Regions from separate parts of the Homo sapiens genome. Here region 2 is linked to region 1. The links are contacts of gene promoters, found by promoter capture Hi-C in blood cells and fetal thymus (Javierre and others, 2016). All regions are on one chromosome and are shown on one strand. The core of a region is centred on a gene start or on the middle of the fragment in contact, and the rest is flanking DNA. Distances in the headings are between cores, read along the strand shown. Region 1 holds the start of RPL32 (ribosomal protein L32). Region 2 has its middle 11 kb from the start of HDAC11-AS1.

Region 1 (6,376 bases), core at 876-3,375:
TGCTTCCATAACCAATGTTGGGCATCAAGATCTGGCCCTTGAATCTTCTACGAACCCTGTTGTCAATGCCTCTGGGTTTCCGCCAGTTACGCTGAAGGAAATAATACACAGGTGGGTTAGCGTCTGTGCAGAGTGCGAACTCTTCCTTTTGGGGAGGGAAAAAAAGGACCAAATGAAAAGGAAGTATGCCACACAGTAGTTGCCTTTGGTAACAGGACTTCACTATTTCCTTACTTTTTTGGTGGGAAAAACCAGGAGCTCGTGGCTTTAGCCACTAGGGATGAAGGCACCCCCACCATTGCCACTCCCAAGCAATGGAGGAGGCACCAATGGGATGCGAGGGGACTGTGTAGATACTGAGATGGCAAGCACAGCTGCAGACACTGCTCTCAGCACCTGAGTTTTCTTGTCTATAAAATAGGGATCCTGCTGTCACAAGGCAACCCAAAATACAGGACACAAATGCAAAGCCCTCTGAACACATCAAAACGGCCAAATGTCCCTTTTCATTAAAGTTTCGCTTCACACATCAAGAGACATAAGTACCAGCACTAGGGCACACTGGGGGAGACCTGTATTTCTACAGAAAGCTCTTCCACAAGCCAGTTCATCGGTCAAAGATAATCCTGACTAGGTGATGTCAGAAACTGTTGGAAACTCTTTTCTTCACCCCACACCCATTTCCATCCCAGGACCACATACCTTAATTTTGACATATCGGTCTGACTGGTGCCGGATGAACTTCTTGGTTCTCTTTTTGACGATCTTGGGCTTCACAAGGGGTCTGAGGGCGGCCATGATGCCTTTTGGGGAAGAAGCGGCCCCAGGTGAGGAAGAATCCTGGAAGGAGGCTTTCCTGCCCAGGGACTGAACACTGTCGCAGAGTGTCTTCCAATCGCCAGCTACGGAGCAAGCTGGGAATGGAATGGGTGCCTCTGCCAGGCTTGCTTTCCCTCCCTTTCCGAAGCTGGCAGAATACTAGGCACTCTCCAGATGCGATCCCAGGAGGTCAAGGGTCACCTCACCCACTCAGAGCCCAAAGAATGCCAACAGCTGAGCAAATCAAAACTGACCCCAAGACACTCTCAATTTGCAAGGGGCAGCAAATCCCACCCCACCAGTGTCCGAACCCCCAGATGGTCCTTCCGGTAGTACTGGCCTTGACCATCTACTTGAACCTGAGTCTTTTCCTCACCTGTAAAATGAAGATGACACTGCGCGCTGAATGCCTGCAGTGCCTGTCACAGGGTAAATGTTCAATAAAACCTTCTAATTCCCTAGGGAGCTGCTGCGCTACCACACCCTCAACACACACAAAACCACCATATACCTCTGAAGATGCCTCAAACCTGGAGATCTTCCAGTATCAACTCACACCTTCCTCAGTGTGGTCTTCCGAGCCATTGATTTCCTACAGCAGCACCCCTTCTGCTCTCTTCGCAGCCATCAACTGGCCCAGAGTGGGTACTCAATGAACCACGTATTCAAAACGACTCTGCCTTCTGGCCCATGATATCCTCGAAGGCAAGGTGGGGGCAGTTGCATCTTCATATTCCCAGAGATACTACCAGAATTTCTGCCTGCAGCTGGACCAGCCGACCTACAGCTCGTCTTTCCTTGGCGGTCCCGCAGCAGCAGCCCTCGGGCCAGAGACTGCAGCGGAAGAAGCCGGCCATGGCATGAACGAATACACGTGGGCCGACATTGGTGAGCGCTGGGATCCACAGATCCCAGCTGAAAGCTGTCAAGCTGGGCCACCCCTGGTCGTCCCACGGCCCCCAGGAGACCCCGAAGTCTGGCCTCAACTAGCACCCTCCACCGCCAAGGAACAAACAAGCAGCCCGCAGCTCTGAATACAGGCGGAGGGCAGGAGGCTCTGGGACGCAAAGCCCTATCAACTCGGCGGCTTCGTTCTGTTCCTGTACACGCTCCAGTAAGCTGACAATAACAATACCCACAGACACTACCGCGCTGAAGGGGAGGCCTCCGCACCACTGGGCGACGGGGCCAGATGAATCCCGCAGGAATGCGGATTGCCACGGATTAACACTTACCGAGAAGGAGATGGCTGCCACCTCCGTAGGCAGCGCCGAGGAAGAGAGAAGGGACGGTGGCGCGCAAGGGCTGATGGGTCGTAACCCCTGGGTCCTAGCAGGGAAAAAGGCAAGCACTTCCGGCTCCGGCTCTTTTAAATAAAATAAAGACACGTCAAAAAATAATGCCGCAAAAATTCTGAGTATACATGTTTTAATAGACAATAATAACTAGGAATAGGACTGAGAAATGTATTCTACCTATCCTTGGGACTACGTAGAAATTTGGAATTCTTTCTGAGCTAATAAGACCTGGTGGAGGGAGGAATTTACTTCCGCCAGAAGTCGAAGCCAATCCGCTTTTGGGCTATTTCCGCCCGCGTTTCTTCTACTCCGAAGTGCGCCTCTTAGTGGTCAGAAGAGAACAAGACAGAGACTTCCTAATAATTTCATCACCGAATTTAGACAGTAAATAGTAACGAAAACAGCTAACATGCGATGGAGTTCACTATGCCTACCACAATTCTATAACGTACCCCTATTATTGTCTCCATTTTGCATATGTGGAAGATGAAATTTGGAGACTTGACTCCAAACTCCACGCTTCTAACCACTGGGCGAAACTGCCTAGTTTTTCTTTGTTCATTTTTTAGAAATGGGGTCTCACTCTGTTGCCCAGGCTGGTCTTGAACTCCTGGGCTCAAACGATTCTCTCGCCTCAGCCTCCTGAGTAGCTGGGATTACGGGCACGAGCTACTGCCTAGATGTTTTTTGTTTTGTTTTGTTTTTTGGTTTTTGGTTTTTTTTAGACAGGGCCTCCCTCTGTCACCTAGGCTGGAATGCAAAGGTGCCATCTCACGGCTCACGGCAGCCCCTGCCTCCCAGACTGCCTAGTTTTTAAAGATGCTCTTGATTTGTTTTGCTTAGCTTTTGTATTTAAGATTATTGTGCAAATTGGCTGAGCACTATGGTTCACACCTATAATTCCAATACTTTGGGAGTCTGAGGTGGGAGATTTGCTTGAGCCCAGGAGTTCAAGACCGGCCTAGGCAACATAGTAAGACCCTGTCTCTACAAAAAATAAAATAATTAGCTGGGGCTGGTGGCGCATGCCTGTAGTCCCAGTTACTCGAGAGGCTGAGCTGGGATGATCACGTGAGCCCAGCAGTTCTAGACTGCAGTTAGCTGTGATAATGCCACTGCACTCCAGCCTGAGTGACAGAGCAAGACTCTGTCTCAACAACAACAAACCTATAAAGACAAATAACCCAATTGAAAAATGGGTAAAGAATCCAAATAGACATTTCTCTGTGGCCAATGAACACATGAAATGATCCACATCATTAGCCATCAGGGAAATACAAACTGGAACTGCAGTGAGATACCATTTCACACTCACTAGGACAGAGAAATGGGAATGTCCGTACAGTGCTAGTGCAAATATGAAATGGTGCAGTCACTTTGGAAAAGAATAGCATTTCCTCAAAATGTTAAACATAAAGTTACTGTAAGACCCAGCGACTGGGCGCGGTGGCTCATGCCTGTAATCCCAGCACTTTGGGAAGCTGAGGTGGGCAGATCACCTGTGGTCAGGAGTTCGAGTCCATCCTGGCCAACATGGTGAAACCCCATCTCTACTAAAGTTACAAAAAATTAGCTGGGTGTGGTGGCACATGCCTGTAGTTCCAGCTACTAGGGAGGCTGAGGCACGAGAATCACTTGAACTCAGGAGGTGGAGGTTGCAGTAAGTGGAGATCGCGCCATTGCACTCCAGCCTGGGCAACAAGAGCGAAACTTTGTCTCAAAATAATAATAATACATGAATTGGTGTCCCACAAAATGAAGATACTTTTTTTCTGATAAGAATATACACATAAGATTTATGTCAACTCAGTAATCATTCAGGAGGTTTTACTTCCTGAGATTTTTTTTAATGAAAACATTTTCTCAAGTTAGATTCCTAGGGTGTCTAAGTCAATGCCAAGAAAAGTTTGGAAAGACTTTGAGAGAAGGCCAGCCCAGCATCTTTCTTGTAAGCGGAGGTAGATTTGGTTTCACAGAGGCCTACTGGAAGTGATAAAAGGGAAGAATTCTTTAGGAATCACTTTAGTGTTTACTGTACATGCTAGGGACATAAATTTTTTTTAAAAAAAGGAATCACTGTGGTGTAAAATACTATTAAAATTTCTCTAAAAGTCTAGAGCTGGGCTGGATATGGTGGCTCACACCTGTAATCCCAGCACTCTGGGAGGCCAAGGCAGGAGGATTGCTTGAGGCCAGGCATTCAAGAGCAGCCTGGAAAACAAACCAAGACCTCATTTATATATTAAAAAAAAAATAGCTGGATTTGGTGGCACTCACTTTGCAGTCCCAGTTACTTGGGAGGCAAGGGCAGGAGGATTGCTTGAGGCCAGGCATTCAAGAGCAGCCTGGAAAACAAACCAAGACCTCATTTATATATTAAAAAAAAAAAATAGCTGGATTTGGTGGCACTCACTTTGCAGTCCCAGTTACTTGGGAGGCAAGGGCAGGAGGATTGCTTGAGCCAGGAATTGGAGGCTTCAGTGAGCTATGATGGCACCACTGCACTCTAGCTTGAGTAAATTTCACCTGCTGCAGACCTGCCTGTGTCTATGCGCTCCTAAAGAGCGGGAAGGAAACCATCAGTTTTGTCATCTGAAAGGGGAAAAGAGACGGGCAAACCTGGCCTTCTGCTCACTTCACAGGAATGCCGGAAGAGCCAGCAGAACGGGAAGTGCTTGGATCTTTGGGGGCATGGGCGTTTACGTATCATTCAGCCTTGTGGCCTGAGGAAGCATGTCACCAGAGAAGACAGCTCGAAGACTCCATGCCCAGGGCCTGGCTGGCTTTCTGCTGGGCTTGCACCATTCTTTGCCTCTTTAGGGCTTTGTAGGTGGTCAGGGCTGGTTTTCTGGAATGAAGTTCCCCCCAAAGCTGGAGCCCCTCCTGACTGGTTATCTTGGCCACTGCAGGGTTTCCCAATGTTACAGGCAGATTCGGTCCCCTTACTAGGCTCCTCCTTGTTCTCGGCAGCAAAATCGATAGTGCGAGGGACCTGGAGTAGGGAGCTGCCTCAGTCATTAGAAAGGGTTACCTGGTGATATGGTTTGGCTGTGTCCCCACCTAAATCTCATTATGAATTGTAATAAACCCCAAGTGTCAAGGGCAGGGCCAGGTGGAGATAATCCAATCATGGGGGCAGTTTTCCCCATACTGTTCTCTTGGTAGTAAATAAGTCTCACAACATCTGATGGTTTTATAAAGGGGAGTTCCTCTGCGCACACTCTTCTTGCCTGCTGCTGTGTAAGACCTGACTTTGCTCCTCCTTTGCCTTCCGCCATGATTATGAATTGTAAACAGCCATATGGAACTGTGAGTCAATAGCCTCTTTCCTTTATAAATTATCCCGTCTCGGGTATGTCTTTATTAGCATTATGAGAACAGACTAATACAGTGAATTGGTACCTGGAGTGAGGGGCTGCTGTAAAGATACCTGAAAATGTAGAAGCGACTTTGGAACTGAGTAACAGGCAGAGGTTACTGGTGGAAGGTGTCCAGGTTCTTGGCGTCTTGAACAAAGAATTGGACAAGATGCACAAACAAAGCAAGGAAAGCAAAAGCAGAGATTTATTAAAAACAAAGGTACACTCCACAGTGTTGGAAGCAGGCCTGAGCATCAGGGCTCAAGAGTCCCCATTACAGAGTTTTCTGGGGTTTCAATACTCTAGAGGTTTCTCTTTGGTTACTTGGTGTACCTCTGTGTAAATGAGAATGGAGTGAAGTTGCAGTCATTTACTCAGAATGCATCCTATATAAATGAAGATGATGTTACTTGGCGTGTGTGATCTGTGTGAATACTGAGGATGAATGTGAAGTTACAAAGTGTAAATGGAGAGGATGTTACTTGGAGTGTGTGGGCTACGGAAATGGAGAAGATGAATGTTAAGTTACAAAGTGTAAATGGTGTAAATGGAGAGGATGAAGTGAAGTTACAAAGCCATTCACATTTCTGTCATTGCTGAAGTGCTTCCATTTGATTTAGTTCTAAGAAGTCAGCATGGATCAGCCTTATGTTCCCTGCCTCCAGGCCCTATTCTCCTGCCCCATTGGACAGTTTGAAGGGCTCAGAAGAAGATAGAAAAAAGTGGGAAAGTTTGGAACTTCCTAGAGACTTGGAGGGCTCAGAAGACAGGAAGATGTGGGCAAGTTTGGAACTTCCTAGAGACTTGCTGAATGGCTTTAACGAAAATGTTGATAGTGATATGGACAATAAAGTCCAGGCTGAGGTGGTCTAGATGGAGATGAGGAACTTATTGGGAACC
Region 2 (6,291 bases), core at 467-2,966, 630 kb after region 1:
TCCAATTAAGAAGCAATTTGGGTCTTTGCAGCAAGACCCAGCAGCCACCCAAGTGTAGCAGAGAAAACCACAGGCTCGGGTTCTTGCTCCCCACATTAGCTGACTGTGAGATCTCAGGCCAGCTATTGAGCCTCCCTGGACATCTGTTTTTTTTGACTATGAAATGAGGGGTCATGCTGCTTAATATTGAAGGACCCTGCTGACTTCAAAGTGGGCAATTCCAGGGAGTGGGAGGATTCTTTCCCTCCAATGCTGGAACATTTTCCACTGCATTCTAGTGTCTTTATCACCCTCTTTGCATTCCACTGAAGGCCAATTATTCTCTCAGTTGTAGTGGATTTGAATTCTAGTCTATAAACTAATTTGCGCACAAATCGTACCTTTCTTTATTTTTTATATCCTATCTTAATTTCTCTTTCCAGATCTTATTCCTGTAGGGTGGCAACTCAATATTTCCCTTCTTCCTATTTCTAGGATGCGCCTACACTCTCCAGGGATTAAATGTGGTGCTAAGTCATGGGTGGGAGGGGTCAGTAGCCTCCACTGAGGTATCCTCGGTACCATCTGGGCCTCAGGAGTGGTCTTTGCTGGTTGTCACGGAGATCACATTCCCATCTGCCGAGGATGCAGCCTGGCACAGTGGCTCATTCCAGCACTTTGGGAGGCTGAGGTGGGCAGATCACCTGAGGTCAGGAGTTCAAGTCCAGCCTGGCCAACATGGCAAAACTCCATCTCTACTAAAAATACAAAAATTAGCTGGGCATGGTGGCACGCACCTGTAGTCCCTGCTACTCAGGAGGTGGAGACAGGAGAATTGCTTAAACCCGGGAGGCGGAGGTTGCAGTAAGCCACTGCACTCCAGCCTGGGAAACAGAGCAAGACTCTGTCTCAAAACAAACAAACAAACACACTTCTTATTTTTATCCCTTAGTGCAAGTATCAGCCTGGAGCCAGCCAGGAAAACACAAAGCTCTCTCATGGAATTTAATACAGGGAATTGGTTGCTCTGGTGGTGGAGGCAGTGGCAGTGAGGTTAGAGGGATTAGTTCAGCAGGAGGCCACTCCCATTCCTAGGAATAAAGAGAAGGTAATAGGTGTGACCCAGGAGTTGGGGTGCCCCGTAGGAGCTAGAGCCGTAGGAAGGGTCTTTCTGGTAGGCGATGGGACCACCGAAGTTCCCAGGGGGACAAGGCAGAGCTGAAGCCACAGAGGAGAAGACCCTCCCTCTGCTGGAGATGTCAAAGGGCACCCAGGGGAGAAATGCCCTGCTTTATCCTCTCTTCTCACCCTCTAGCGTTCCAGCACCAGTGGCCACTGACTGAATAAGAAGCCAGAGGACAAGGGCAGGGCAGAAGTGGACCCGAGTGCCTGTGGGCAGTTGACCAGCATGCTATGTGTGGCTTTTATAAGTAACAAGGGTCAGTGTTTACTTATAAACCTGGGCTCCACTTAGTTTTCTTGGTTAAGATACACATTTCTCCTTTTCCTCGGAGGCATCCGGGAATTAACTTCTCTTAACTGCAAAGTACTCTACTTGTTGGCTTAACTATTTCCCTATCCTTTGGCATTTGGGTCCATTCCAGTTTTGTTGCTTCTACAAACAAAATAGATAGGAAGACCTTTTATATGCAATGATTTAAGCTTTCTCTTACATTCTTCCTTTCAGCTCAATTTTCCCAGGATGGGTCCTTACATGTCATCCATTAAAAATTTTTTTTTCTGAGAGAAATAACTTCAGTGTAGTGGAAATGGTTCTGCATTTAGAGCCATGCTTGCTACGTGAGAATGCCTGGAAGCTTTATTTTTCTCAGCTTAAAAAAGAGCATCACTCCTGGCCCATCTTCCCGGCAGCATTTGAGCAGATGGGCCTCATCACTGATATCAATATGATGCAAACCTGTGTGATGAGAGGCTGGTGACATCAAAGATGATAAGGACAATGAATGTTGTAAGATGGGGACCAGTGGGCATGTCCTCGAGTGCTGGGAAGGAGCCCAGAGCCCACTAAAGCTTCATGAGCCCCATCATCCAATAACCTGAAGAGAACCATGTCTAGGCCTAACCTTGGCCGAGTTTGAGTCTCAATGATTTCCCTGCAGACTACAGACTGCTTGACCATGCAGAGTGTATTTAAATAATGAAAGCACACGCTAACACGGATGAAACACCTAAATGTAAGAGCTAAAACTATAAAACCCTTAGAAGAAAACACAGGGGAAAATCTTCATGACATTGGGTTTGGCAATAATTTCTTGGATAGGATACCAAAAGGATAGACAGCAAAAGCAATAATAGACAAATGGAATTACATCAAACTTAAACATTTCTTCACCTCAAAAAAACCAACAGAGTGAAAAGGCGACCTACAGAATAGGAGAAAATATTTACAAATCATATATATGACAAGAGGCCAAAAACCAGAATATATAAAGAAGTCCTAAAACTTAACAACAACACAATAAAAAATGAATAAGGGTCTTGAATAGACATTTCTCCAGAGAAGATATACAAATACCAACAAGCACACGAAAAGGTGCTCAGCACCACTAACTAGTAGGGAAGTGCAAATCAAAACCACAATGAAGGCTGGGCGTGGTGGCTCATGCCTGTAATCCCAATACTTTGGGAGGCTGAGGCGGGCTGATCCCCTGAGGTCAGGAGTTAGAGATCAGCTGGGCCAATATGGTGAAACCCCGTCTCTACCAAAAAATACAAAAATTAGCCGGAAGTGGTGGCACACGCCTGTAATCCCAGCTACTGGGGAGGCTGAGGTGGGACAATCACTTGAACCCGAGAGGTGGAGGTTGCAGTTAGCTGGGATAGAGACACTGCATTGCACTCCAGCCTGGGTGACACAGTGAGACCCTGTCTCAAAAATATATTTATAATAATAAAAAATTAAAAAAAACCCACAGTGAAATGTCACTTCTATTAGGAAGTGAAATGTCACACTATTAGGATTGCCACTATTGAAAAAAAAAAAAAGAAAATAACAGCTCTTGGCAAGAATGCGAAGAAATAGAACCCTTGTTCTGATGTGGGAACGCAAAATGGTATAATTGCTGTGGAAAACAGTATGATGGTTCCTAAAAAAATTAAAGATAGAATTGCCATATGATCCAGCAATCCCACTTCTGGGTACATGTCCAAAAGAAGTGAAAGCAGAGACTCCAATGGATATTTGCACGTACATGTTCATAGCAGCATTATTCACAATAGCCAAGAGGTGGAAAGAACTTAAATGTCTATTGACAGATGAATGAATACAGAAAATGTACTCTGTTCATATGATGGAATATTACTTAGCCTTAAAAGGGAAAGGAATTCTGAGCTAAGCTACGACATGGATGAATCTTGAGGACATTATGCTAAGTGAATAAGCCAGTCACAAAAGGAAAAATACTGTGTGATTCCACTTACATGAAGTACCTAGGGCAGTCAATTTCATAGACAGAAAATGGAATGGGGGGTGCCGGGGCAAAGGGGAGGGGAAAGAGCGAGTTAGTGTATAAGGAGAAGACAGTTTCAGTTTTGCAAGATAAAAAAGTCCCAGAGGGCCAGGCGTGGTGGCTCAAGCCTGTAATCCCAGCACTTCGGGAGGCTGAGGTGGGCAGATCACCTCAGGTCAGAAGTTCAAGACCATCCTGACCAACATGGTGAAACCCCATCTCTACTAAAAATACAAGAATTAGCAGGGGGTGGTGGCGGGTGCCTGTAATCCCAGCTATTCAGGAGGTTGAGGCAGGAGAATCACTTGAACTCAGGAGGTGGAGGTTGCGGTAAGCAGAGATTGTGCCATCGCACTCCAGCCTGGGCAAGAGAGTGAGACTCCATCTCAAAAAAAAAAAAAAAAAAAAAAAAAAAAGAAAAAAGAAAAAGGAAAAGAAAAAGAAAAAGAAAAAATAGTTCTAGAGACCTGTTGCACAAGGATATTTAACACTACTGAACTGTATACTTACCCATGGTTAATATGGTAAAGTTCATGATTTTTGTGTTTTTTTTTTTCGAGATGGAGTTTCGCTCTTTTTTTACCCAGGCTGGAGTGCACTGGTGTGATCTTGGCTCACTGCCCCCTGGGTTCAAGCAATTCTCCTGCCTCAGCCTCCCGAGCAGCTGGGATTGCAGGTGCCCGCCACCATGCCTGGCTAATTTTGTGTTTTTAGTAGAGATGAGGTTTCACCATGCTGTCCAGGCTGGTGTTGAACTCCTGACCTCAGGTGATCGGCCAACCTCGGCCTCCCAAAGTGCTGGGATTACAGGCATGAGCCACCGTGCCTGGCTGGTGTTTGTGTGTGTGTGTGTGTGTGTGTGTGTGTGTGTGTATGTGTGAGAGAAGTCTTGCTCTTGTGCCCCAGGCTTGAGTGCAATGGCTCGATCTCACCTCACTGCAACCTCTGCCTCCCAGGTTCAAATGATTCTCCTGCCTCTGCCTCCCAAGTAGCTGGGATTAAGGCTCCTGCCACCACGCCTGGCTAATTTTTGTATTTTTTAGCAGAGACGGAGTTTCACCATGTTGGCCAGGCTGGTCTCGAACTCCTGACGTCAGGTGATCTGCCTGCCTCGGCCTCCCAAAGTGCTGGGATTACAGACGTGAGCCACTGCGCCCGGCCTGGCTGGTTTTTACTACAGTTAAAACTCAGACACTGGTGGCCAAATCTTGTTAAATTTTCAAATGCTTCCCTTACCCTCCCATGTTGCCAAATTCATTCCTACTTGTCACTGAAGCTGCAATGTCCAGTCCATGGATGGCTTATTTCACACAGCTTCTGGTGTAGGTTCCATTAGCTGGGAAAACTTTTCAGGTGGGAGTAACATGAAGCACATTTCTTTCTGTTTGTGTGTGTGTTTTTTGTTTTTTTATTTTTTTTGTTTTTTTGAGATGTAGTCTTGCTCTGTCGCCCAGGCTGGAGTGCAGTGGCACAATCTCAGTTCACTGCAAACTCCACCTCCCGGATTTAAATGATTCTCCTTCCTCAGCCTCCCCAGTAGCTGGGATTACAGGTACCTGCCACCACGCCTGGCTAATTTTTGTATTTTTAGTAGAGATGGGGTTTCACCATGTTGCCCAGGCTGGTCACGAACTCTTGACGTCAAGTGATCCACCCTCCTCAGGCTCCCAAAGTGCTGGGATTACAGGCGTGAGCCACCTCACCCGGCCAGTCTTTAAGGTCTTGAGCTAGGTCTGGACCCATAGGCAGGTTGGATCTGGATGCTGGGCTCTGAAAGGTCACACTTAGTGGTGGAGACAGACATAAGAACAAATAATGAAGATGAAGCCCATGCAGGCTGTGTTCATCCAGGCACAAATGTTTAGTGGATGCAGATTGGTGCCAGGCACTGTGCTGGGTACATGCAGTAAACAGAGATGTCACCTCTGCCCTCTTCGAGCTTGCAACCTAGTGGAGGAAGTGAGTTAACAGGTGAGTAAACAAATATGTCTGTGTACGCATGGGTAATGGTACAAAGTCTGGTGAATACTCTGAAGGGCAAGAACAGGATGCAGCGATGGAGAACACCAGGCGTGGAGGGGTGCTGCTTACATTTGGTGGCCAGGGAAGACCTCTCCCGTCACGTAGCACAGTTATTGGCATGCAGTCCCCACCCTTCAGCGTTCACTGTTGGTGGCTTCCGACTGCATGTCCCTGTGATTCAGCCTGTGGGCTTCCTCTGGCTTCAGGGGCGTGCCTGGCCAGTGTGAGGCAAATCAGAATTGTGGGGGTTTAACATCCCTGGCAGTAGCCCTCAGCAAATGATGGACAGGAGTTAGAGGATGAATATTCCAGCCACCGGAGCCCTGCGCACCCACAGCTGTCTTCTGCTCGTTGACATACCTTGTACTGGCTCCCTTCTGTCCCTTTCTTACCCCCTCTCACTCGCTCACCAGTACTTCTGGAATCACCTTCCAAATGAACCATTTGCATCAAATCTGTGTCTCAGGGCCTCATTGTTGGGGAGCTCACACTAAGACAGAGGTGACATTTACCCCAAGGCCTGAAGGATAAGAAGGAGCTGGTTAGCTAGAGTGTTGCAGGGACAGCTGTGGTGGCTGGAAGAGCATATGTGAAGACCCCATTTGAATCTACCATTTCCCAGAAACTGAGAAAGCTATTAAAACCTCCCCCAAAAAGTTCCAGGCCCACATAGTTTTGTGGGAGAATTGTTTCTAACTTCAAAGAGCAAAAAATGCAGATGTTATTTAAGCTTTTCCAGAACACTAAATGATTTAATTTATTTTTATAAATCCAATATTAACACTGATACCAAAATTCTACCAACATAGGATACAAATTA

Evidence for each region. The method cuts DNA at HindIII sites, captures the fragments that hold promoters and counts their contacts. A CHiCAGO score of 5 or more calls a contact.
Region 2: a contact is called between a fragment that was not itself captured here and the fragment with the promoter of RPL32 in region 1, in 3 of 17 cell types (total B cells, total CD8 T cells and naive B cells). The highest score is 8.5, in total B cells.

The regions. Positions count from the first base shown.
Region 1 is chr3:12,839,440-12,845,815 of GRCh38, forward strand. RPL32 (ribosomal protein L32) reads right to left here and starts at 2,126. Exons shown (of 4, transcript NM_000994.4): 1 at 2,055-2,126; 2 at 703-803; 3 at 1-91. The coding sequence starts at 798. SNORA7A (small nucleolar RNA, H/ACA box 7A) reads right to left here and starts at 1,011; the gene lies at 873-1,011. RefSeq lists enhancers at 486-1,424, 1,425-2,361, 2,455-2,704. The HindIII fragment of the contact is 26,906 bases long and covers 1-6,376 here.
Region 2 is chr3:13,465,601-13,471,891 of GRCh38, forward strand. No RefSeq gene overlaps it. Among named protein-coding and RNA genes, the nearest start is that of HDAC11-AS1, 11 kb to the right of the region's middle. The HindIII fragment of the contact is 155 bases long and covers 1,640-1,794 here.